Regions from separate parts of the Homo sapiens genome. Here all the other regions are linked to region 3. Evidence: promoter capture Hi-C in 16 types of primary human blood cells and fetal thymus (Javierre and others, 2016). All regions are on one chromosome and are shown on one strand. The core of a region is centred on a gene start or on the middle of the fragment in contact, and the rest is flanking DNA. Distances in the headings are between cores, read along the strand shown. Region 1 overlaps SETD5 (SET domain containing 5). Region 2 holds the start of BRK1 (BRICK1 subunit of SCAR/WAVE actin nucleating complex). Region 3 holds the start of TADA3 (transcriptional adaptor 3).

Region 1 (3,055 bases), core at 358-2,857, 320 kb after region 3:
GGAAAGGCAAGTACTTAAGTTACTGGTTCAGTAAAGGAGGATGGCATTAAAGACATCAACCAACCAGTTCTTCACTCACTTTCACTGTTAAAGAAGCTGTGTTTCTCATACAACTTTCTGGCCACTCAATTCTTCTTTATCCTCTAATGTACGTCAACATACCACAAGACCACTAATGCTCATCACTGCAGATTCTGAAATGCTGAAATGTACCAAAAATAAACCCCACCTACTATTTGGTTATCATAACCTCCAAACTTCCAACACTAGGTCAACTACAGCTAACCGACAAAGAATGGTACCAGAAAACCAGATACCATACCATATCAGTCTTCAAATTACGTTATCTTAGAATCTTTAACAACTGAGGAGAGAGAGCTTTACTTTCCTAACAAGCTAGAGTCAAAACACCAAGAAAATCTCTAATATACTAGTGGAATAAAACCTTTTTCAGTTTCATATTAACCTGTGAACTACTACTGATTCAGAACTTAGTAGACTGTCACTGAATTATGCCCTAATTTTTTATTGGAAGGGGATAGGGTTAAAGTTCAGTTGACTATTTCTGAGAGACTCTAACTTTCTCTTCAAGAGAAAAAAGGTCCCATGTATTAATAGATTCAGAGTTAATGTTACTAAATCTGAAAGCTTATAATAGAAACTCTAGCACTAAAATCTGAGTTTGACATATCCACAGCAGTAGGGTTTGTGAGAAAACCACTCTACTGATATCCTAAAGAGATAACACTTGTATAGCAACCATATCCTAACCATTGCAGAATGGTGGCCTGTGACAGAAAGCCAGGGACTCACTTGGTTTCCTTGTGCACCCAGTAAGGAGCTGCAGAGAAAATGTAGGAAAGCTGAAAGACAGAATGACTTTCCCTTCCTGAAGAAGCTGCTCAATCTATCAACCAAAGGTCAAAACATCTGGTTTACAGAGCTGTTAGATTAACCCTAGAACAAGGCATAAGTCACCACCCAACTCAAAAAACAGCTCTTACAACTTTTGACTCAACTTTCCTGATTTATTAGCCTTTCTTTAACAAGGCTCCTACCACATATCAGCATCTTGACTTCTAGATTCTATTCTTTAATAGAACTCCAGCCACCCCCTCCCCCAAACGGCAAAAACCAACCCCACCAAACACACACACAACACACACACACACAAACACACACGCTCCTACCTTCATTTTCCTCCATCTACATTGACAGTCCTGTGTAGTCACAGTCACACAGGAAGACTCATTCAACTTACTGTGACTGAGTGGCCGCCCTCCAGCCCATCACCCCACTGACTCAGATCCCCAGCCCTCCCCACACACTCAGGAACACATTCATGAACACTCACTCTCAGCCTCCAAGTGTGATTGAGATGGTGTGATAACTACCTCGGGTGACAGGGACTCGGGCCTATGCGCAGGGGAACTCTCAGGGGAGGATATGTTCTAGAGGAGGGAAAAGCATCTTGTTATTATTCATCTACTCGAAGTCAAGAAGCAAAACAAAACAAAAAATAAAAGCAAGCATAGATGTTAGCCATAACTTTTTTCGGGGGCGGGGAAGTTGAATAAGAATGCATAGGGGAAATATTTAACTGCAGAACTCATCTCAATGGACAGAATGACTTGTTAAAATGCTTCCTGGTATCTCTGAAAGCATTTAAGGATAAATTGGTTATAATGTTTCATGCTGTAAGTAAACATCTCAAGCACATACAAGGAAAGAGTTAGACTGGTGAAATTTTAGTGTTATACGTCTTTGTATTTTAGATGAGAGTTTAGCAACCTACAGTATTTGTTATTGAGGGGCACCCTACCCCTTATTCCTCCTTACATGGACCTTGTTCCTTCATCCAATGCCTCTTCTGCTTGTCACATTTCTTTATTCTCTTATATGCCTCAGGCCCTCCCAGTGCTATCCAGGGGGAGACATTAGTGTGCTGGGGGCTGACATGGTTAGGGAGATGGCCAGTTCCTCTTGAATGACAGTTACAGGAAATGTGATTGATGGAATCCCTAGCTCACAGGCTAGAGTTGGTTCTTGGCATAATCTAATTAGACCTGAGCCACCCCTATTAATGTTATTTTGTAAAATCCATTGTACTTTTGGCAACAGAGCAGAAAAAGCATGTATGTGTATACTTAGGTCCCTGTATCCTACAGAGGGTAGGACTTTACCTTGGGACTTTCAGGTGAGGCAGCAGTCCCATAACAGAGACTGAGCAGTGAGTGCTTAATGGAAAGATGTAAATGGGAACACGTGAAGAGAGTGAAGGTGGTAGTGTGACAATGACTCAGGGGTGCTAGGGCTGAGGTAAGGAGAGGGTGCCTAATGTAGACTCTGAATAACTGTGGCCTAGGTGGCAGGCACATGCTGAGGTAGGGGAAATGAGGCTGCTTCAGCAAAGCAGGGTTTTGGCTGTGAATTTTACTTGGCATGGACAGTGGGTGGTGTACATCTAGGTGCACGTATGTGTGAAATGGCGGGTGGAGTATGGCTCTCAGGGCAAGAATAGGAGGGGAGGGTTATTCTGGTAGAAAGGAGAGGCTAACTAAGCTTGTCCTCCCAATGTTGCTTCCACTCTTCTTTCTAGATGCTTTCCCCTCCTGAAGATCTTGTTCTCTTCCACTGTTTATCTTCTTACCTTCTTCCCCTTAGCACTTAAGACTTCTCACCATTTTCCTGAATGCTTTTTTCCTTCTCAAAAATATCCTTCCCCAAACTAATCTAGTAAGGTTGTTTTTTTTTTTTTTTTTTTTTTTTTGAGAGAGAGTCTCCCTCTGTTGCCCAGGCTGGAATGTGGAATGCAGTGGCGCAGTCTTGGCTCCCTGCAACCTCCCAGGCTCAAGCAATTCCTTTGCCTTGGCCTCCCGAGTAGCTGGGATTACAGGTGTGTGCCACTGTACCTGGCCTAAGCTGGTCTTTAAATTATTTTTAGAGATGGGATCTCACTGTTGCCCAGGCTGGCATGTAGTGGCACAATAATGGCTCACTGCAGTCTTAAACTCCTGGTCTTAAGTGATCTTCCTGCTTCAGCCTCCCAAGTAGC
Region 2 (3,065 bases), core at 90-2,589, 320 kb before region 3:
ACCTTGGCCTCCCAAAGTGCTGGGATTACAGACATAAGCCATTGAACTCAGCCACGATTATAGTCCTAAACACCCTGTATGAAAATACTTTAATACAAAAATGATGCTCTTCTTTGTCCTGAAGTTGTCATTATTTCATCTTCAAGATTAGAACTTCTTTGAATGTAGGAAGTGGTTCTTATTCTGTGTCTCCCACTATGCCTTAAGAGAGGGCCTCATATGGAGCTCTAGCATCTCTCGCTGATGCTTTCTGACAATCTCTTGCTCTGTCACCTTTGTACTCCTAAGGCCATCAGTCCTTTAGTTAGAGAATCATTCATTTAAAAATCTTTCCAAAGTACACTAGTCCCTATATCCTGTAATTACACAAGAAAGTCTAACCAGTGCCAAGTTCTGTTAAACACTTGGAGAAGAAGGGGTAGGAATCTCGATTGCTTTGCTTGCTGTTCATAAGGAAGAATTTAAGGCTGTCACAAGCAGGCCATGCCTAGGAAAGATTCTGGTAAAGATATCTTTCTGCTGAAGGCACCCGACCTGTGTTAGCTCTGAGGAATGGGCTAGAAGCAGACAGAACACCTACCATAAGCTATATATACTAGCAATACAGAGAGGACTTCCAAGGTCCTACAAGATCCTGGCATCCCTCTGACCTCATCTCCCACCACTCTCACCGCAGCAGACACAGGAAACAGGAAGGAATGGACAAGACGGGAGTGGTTGACAACGGGTCCAACTAAAAGGCACGACGCTAGAGGGTATCGACCAGATCCTGAAGATGGGGAACGGTCAACAGTCTTGAAACAGAGGAGTGACACGGTCCCGGATGCTCACTTTGAGTGCAAAGTGGGGACCGGAATGGATGCAGAGTACAAAGGAGGCAGGGAGACCACTTAGGAGAAGAACCACGGAGCGAGGATGGGGCTGCCTGACGCGTCTAGGAGAAGGACTTGTAGAATGGATCCAGAGGGATGGCAGGAAGCCATGAGCTCAGCGTAGGGCAGGATAACCCTACAGAGACTGTCTACGGGAGCCTGAGGGTCAGGGCGGGAGGGAGAAGGTGGGACCTGAAGGAGGAAGTGAAAACCCGCAACAGCCGAAGGCTGCGGGAGTCCTCTCAAAGCATCTCCCCGGCGCCCCAGCCCAACCACCTCAGCGGCCTCCCTCCTCCCCGCCTCCCCTTGCTGGCCCGCTGACCGAACGAGTTGAGAAAGTCTGCGATTTTCTTGATGCTGCTGGTGATTATCTCAATGTACTCCCGGTTAGCCCAGTCCTGGTGAATCTCCCGCTGCACCGGATCCTCCTGTCCCGCCATGGCCGCCGCCTGAGGAAGAGCGACTGCGCAGGCGCCCCGACCCTACAGGCCTCTAGTGCGCCTGCGCTGCCAGGCCACACCCATCCTCTTGAGCACCCACGAATTCTCGGGCACTATGATAGGCCTGTGCAACGTCACGTCCTCGCCGGCGTTTGCTCTCTACTCCCACGCTATAGAACACAGAAGCCTGGACGCCGGCGGCGAGGTTGTAGTGCACGCGCGTTATGGTCGTTACACGGCGCGTGGGGTCTTGCCGTCTCCCTCAACTGCTCCAGGCTCAGGTTGCGCACTCAGTGTCCGCAGTGAGATGGGCACAGTCGATTAAATCACATTAAATACAAGTCTTTTTTTTTTTTAGACGGAGTCTAAAAAATAATATGGTCATAAATAGCTGGGCACACTGCAAACTGGAACAGTCCCTTTCAGAAGGAAATTTGTGTTTTTGTGTTGTTTTTTGAGACAAGGTTTTTTCTTGTTTTTTGTTTTTTTGAGACGGAGTCTTGCTCTGTCGCCCAGGCTGGAGTGCAGTGGTGTGATCTCGGCTCACTGCAACCTCCGCCTCCCAGGTTCAAGCTATTCTCCTGCCTCAACCTCCCGAGTAGCTGGAATTACAGGCGCACACCACCACGCCCGGCTAATTTTTTTGTATTTTTAGTTGAGATGGTGTTTCACCATGTTGGCCAGACTGGTCTCGAACTCCTGACTTCAGGCAATCCGCCCGCCTCGGCCTCCCAAAGTGCTGGGATTACAGGTGTGAGCCACCTCGCCCAGCCTGAGACAAGGTCTTACTGTCGCCCAGGCTGGAATGCAATGGCATGATCATGGCTCACTGCAGCCTCGAACTCCTGGGCTTGAACTCCTGGGCTCAAGCTATCCTCCAGCCTCAGCCTCTGGTGTAGTTGGGACTACAGGCTCACGTCACCACGCCTGGCTAATTTGTGTATTTTTTGTAGACACGGGGTTTCACCATGTTGGCCAGGCTGGTCTCGAACTGACAGGTGATCTACCCACCTCGGCCTCCCAAAGTGCTGGGATTATACGCATGAGCCACCATGCCCGGCCTATTATGCAGTCATTTAAATGCTAATTATGAACACAAGCAACATGAAAACACATACAATAAATTGAGGGGAAAAACAAAATACCCTCCCTCCCTCCCTTCCTTCCTTCCTTTTCTTACTTTTTTTTTTTAAGACAGAGTTTCTCTGTTAATGCCCAGACTGGAGTGCAATGGCACGATCTTGGCTCACTGTGACCTCTGCCTCCCGGGTTCAAGTGATTCTCCTGCCTCAGCCTCCCAAGTAGCTGGGATTACAGGTGCCCGCTACCACACCTGGCTATTTTTTGTATTTTTTAGTAGAGACGGGGTTTCAGCATGTTGGTCAGGCTGGTCTCCAACTCCTGACCTCAAGTGATCTGCCCACCTCGGCCTCCCAAAGTGCTGGGATTACAGACATGAGCCACCCTGCCTGGCCCACATTTTTCTTTAATTGCAACTATGGAAAAATGTATGTTTGAGGACAAGAAGGATCTACAAAAAAAGTCACTATCTGCTTTGCTAAGGTAGTGGAATATGAACAACTTTATTCTCATTTCAGGGAATACTTACAATCTGGCATGCAGTAAATGCTCTTTTTTTTGAGACAGTCTTGTTCTGTTGCTCTGGCTGGAGTGCAGTGGCTCGATCTCGGCTCACTGCAACCTCTGCCTCCCGGGTTCAAGCAATTCTGCCTCAGCTTCTCAGGTAGCTGGG
Region 3 (3,166 bases), core at 361-2,860:
CCCCACTAGAAAAAAAAAATACAGATTTTTAGCAGAGACATGAGGTCACAAAAGTTTGCCAGGATAGGGAACCCAGGAGGAAGAACAAATTTAGAATAGAATATGAGTTTTGAACTAGAGGTCTAATTTCAAGGTCTCTTCAAGATATCCAGGCAAACCTTGAAAGAGAGCTGAGAAGCCAGATTAGGAGTCATCAGAATGAAGAAAGTTATCGAAGCCAGGAGACTAGATCGGTATCACCAGGGAAGGTGTGACGAAGAGGGAGATGGTCATCCAAAGTCACAACTCCCAGGAATGCCCACACGTATGAAAAAGGCCCACATGTATGAAAAAGGCCCACATGTATGAAAAAGGGAGGACTTCCAGGAAGGGAGGGATGAGCAGTATCACAGCTAACATACACTAAGGCTGACACAGTTCAGTTCTGACCAGGAAGGGCCTGAATGGAAGCAACACGAGAGATCCTCCAATGGGGTGGAAGCAGGGCTGGAGGTACCAAGAATGGGATAAGGAAGTGTGGCCGCCTGCCTTAAGCAACTGTAGGGTCAGGAAGGCAGAAGAGGACAAAGGGCGTATGTCGTGAAGTTCCACTGTGGATAGGCAGGTGGACTTGCTTCATGCCTCAGAGGCTAAGAGGCCGACTACGTACCCTCGAAATGCTCCAAAGAGCCTAGGAGACCCCACTTCCGGGTTCCTACAGGGCTCAGGAAAAGCCCCTACCTGCTTCGAAGGCTGACCGTGAAGCCACAAGGCCCACTTCATACCAGGGAGTACCCCCACTCGCCCCTTCCTCACCTCGGGCCCCCGCCCCGTCTCTTTTTCCCACCCTCATCGTGTCCCCACAACCCCCGGACATCCCTCGGCCCCGCGCCCCTGCGGCAAAGCCACATCTCCCACCGACCCACTGCCCTGAGGCCGAACAGCCGGGGGTCCCTGGCCGGGGGCCCGGCTCTCTCACCATCGCGGGCGCTGGCTGGGCCGGAAAGCGGAAGTACGGAAGTGGCCAGCCCCGCGATGCCTGCCCTTTCGCGAGAAGCGCAGCTACGGTCTCCGCCCGGACTTCCGGACGGTACCATCTATGCTCCGAGCGGGGTAGAGAGCCCTTACGAACGCTTGGGCCTTCCGGAAGTTTTCCACCTAGGGCTGTCTCGGTATTTTTAAATTCTTGCACTCGAGTCACTATTTAAGCTCCTCCAGGAATGGGTGCAGCTTCCCTTTGTGCCTTCGGCCTTCTTGTCACCTTTGCCACAGCCTCCCCCAGGTATGCAATGGTACAGCCCAGCTTCAGATTGGGCACCAAATTAGGACAAGCCGAAGCGGACGAGCCCTTCGTTTCTTCCGGTTCTGTACCCCCATCCTTTCTCTCGCCCCTCCTACCCGCAGCTCCTGGCGCTCGGCGGGGCTAACTGCAGCGCGGAGATCTCGGCCGCCAAGCTCCGCCTCCCGCCCCGGGCTGTGCCCCGGGGCTCGCCTGAGGCCGACCACCCGCACCCCACCTCTAGCGGCTTTGCTCGAGGCCCACCTTCTTCCCACCCCCGGCAAACTCCAGTAGGCTCGCCCTCGCTGACTCCCCGCCCCCGCGTCAACTGCAAGGGGCCCGCCCATAGCCAGTTCCGGGGCGGTTGCTCACATCGACCGGAACTCCCCGCCCCCTCCCGCGGCCCCTGGGGCCGTAGGAGGCCGCAGCGAGGAGGTAGAGGGGGCGGGGGTCGCACTAGGGTGTCCCTAGAGAACGAGGACTCTGAAGGCGGGACATTTGGGCGACCCCCGGGCGGGGCCAGCCATTAAACAGTCCCACTTCTGTGCCAGACACTGAACTGGGCTCTTGACGGGCATCATCTCTTAATCCTCAGAACATCCCAGGGAGGTAGGTACTATTGTTATCCCCATTTTTCAGATTCAGACTTTTAATGGGGAAACAGACCGAGACTTCTTTTGTCCCCATTTTACAGATGGAAAAACTGAGACTGAAAAAGGTCAAATAACATGTTCAGGGGCATATAAGTAGAGAATGGTAAAGCCTGGGCTTGAACCCAGGTCTGTCTGGCTTACCAGCCCACGTTCTAAACCACTGTTAGTGACTAGAGAAGGGAGAAAGGTGGAATAGGGTAAGAAAAGAGGCCAAGAGTCCCAGAGAACATGGTAAGAATGGGGTGCTTGGAACTCAAAGTCTTAGCAGAACCCAAGAGAAATAGAAGGGAAGGAAAGAGCATCAGAAAGGCGAGGCAAGGCATAGCAGTATAGCATGGTGATCAGGGTGCAGACTCAAGACTAGCGGGGTTCAAATTGCATCTTGGAAGCATAGGCACATACCCACCCTTACAGAGTCTCAGTTTCTTTCTCTGTAAAAACGAGATCACAATGGTCCTTGTTCATGGTGCTGAGTGAGAAATTCAGTGAGATAAACTGATAAAGTGCTCTGCACCTAGCTTGGTACCCAGTTAAGTGCCCTGTGAGTAGGAACTGTGCCATCAATTTTGTCAGTAAGGGACTGAAGCTGGGCTTCCTTGAGGCTGTCCCTGGAGGTAAGAAGCCCTTGGGCTTTTCTCAGACCACTTTGTCTCCCATCAATGGCCCTGTCCTCTCCAGCTCCACAGGATCCCCATATCCTGGGCCATGAGTGAGTTGAAAGACTGCCCCTTGCAGTTCCACGACTTCAAGTCTGTGGATCACCTGAAGGTCTGTCCCCGCTACACGGCAGTGCTGGCACGCTCTGAGGATGATGGCATCGGCATCGAGGAGCTGGACACCCTGCAGCTGGAGCTGGAGACCCTGCTGTCTTCTGCCAGCCGGCGCCTGCGTGTGCTTGAGGCCGAAACCCAGGTGATAACCCCAGAGAGGGGCCAGCACCAGAGATGGACTGCAACAAGTTATGGGATGGGTCATTGAGTTAGCCCCATATGCTGAGACTTGGGGTACAGGGGTTTGTGGGGAGAGGGAGAGAGACGCAAACTGGGTTTGCATGACACAAAAAATACACAAGAATATGCATGATCCTCTTAAATTGCAAGATTTCTAATTCAGTAAGCTTTTATTGGCACCCCACTCATCCCCCATTGTGTTCTGGGTCCTATGCTAGTCATTAGAGAAAGGTAATTAGGACAGTTATGGCTGTCAGGGAGCTTGGCAACTAGGAAAGTGAGAAAGTCAAGTACATACCAGGTGA

What was found. Contacts are between HindIII fragments. The CHiCAGO score rates a contact against its expected background, and 5 or more counts as called.
Region 1: a fragment that was not itself captured here is called in contact with the fragment with the promoter of TADA3 in region 3 in 1 of 17 cell types (neutrophils); the score reaches 5.4 in neutrophils.
Region 2: a contact is called between the fragment with the promoter of BRK1 here and the fragment with the promoter of TADA3 in region 3, in 12 of 17 cell types (activated CD4 T cells, fetal thymus, non-activated CD4 T cells and 9 more). The highest score is 14.8, in activated CD4 T cells.

The regions. Positions count from the first base shown.
Region 1 is chr3:9,466,915-9,469,969 of GRCh38, reverse strand. The region is part of intron 18 of SETD5 (SET domain containing 5); the gene reads right to left. Among named protein-coding and RNA genes, the nearest start is that of SETD5, 71 kb to the right of the region's middle. The HindIII fragment of the contact is 1,914 bases long and covers 651-2,564 here.
Region 2 is chr3:10,113,949-10,117,013 of GRCh38, reverse strand. BRK1 (BRICK1 subunit of SCAR/WAVE actin nucleating complex) reads right to left here and starts at 1,339. Exons shown (of 3, transcript NM_018462.5): 1 at 1,195-1,339. The coding sequence starts at 1,312. RefSeq lists enhancers at 742-791, 1,242-1,531. The HindIII fragment of the contact is 6,229 bases long and covers 1-3,065 here.
Region 3 is chr3:9,790,917-9,794,082 of GRCh38, reverse strand. TADA3 (transcriptional adaptor 3) reads left to right here and starts at 1,610. Exons shown (of 9, transcript NM_006354.5): 1 at 1,610-1,867; 2 at 2,590-2,823. The coding sequence starts at 2,617. ARPC4-TTLL3 (ARPC4-TTLL3 readthrough) reads right to left here and starts at 1,535. Exons shown (of 12, transcript NM_001198793.1): 1 at 959-1,535. The coding sequence starts at 961. It overlaps ARPC4 (actin related protein 2/3 complex subunit 4), which reads right to left and starts at 1,001. Exons shown (of 6, transcript NM_005718.5): 1 at 959-1,001. The coding sequence starts at 961. It also overlaps a transcript of OGG1 not described here. RefSeq lists enhancers at 336-425, 625-1,151, 1,126-1,225, 1,152-1,678, 2,783-3,166 and silencers at 1,356-1,645, 1,706-1,795. The HindIII fragment of the contact is 10,858 bases long and covers 1-3,030 here.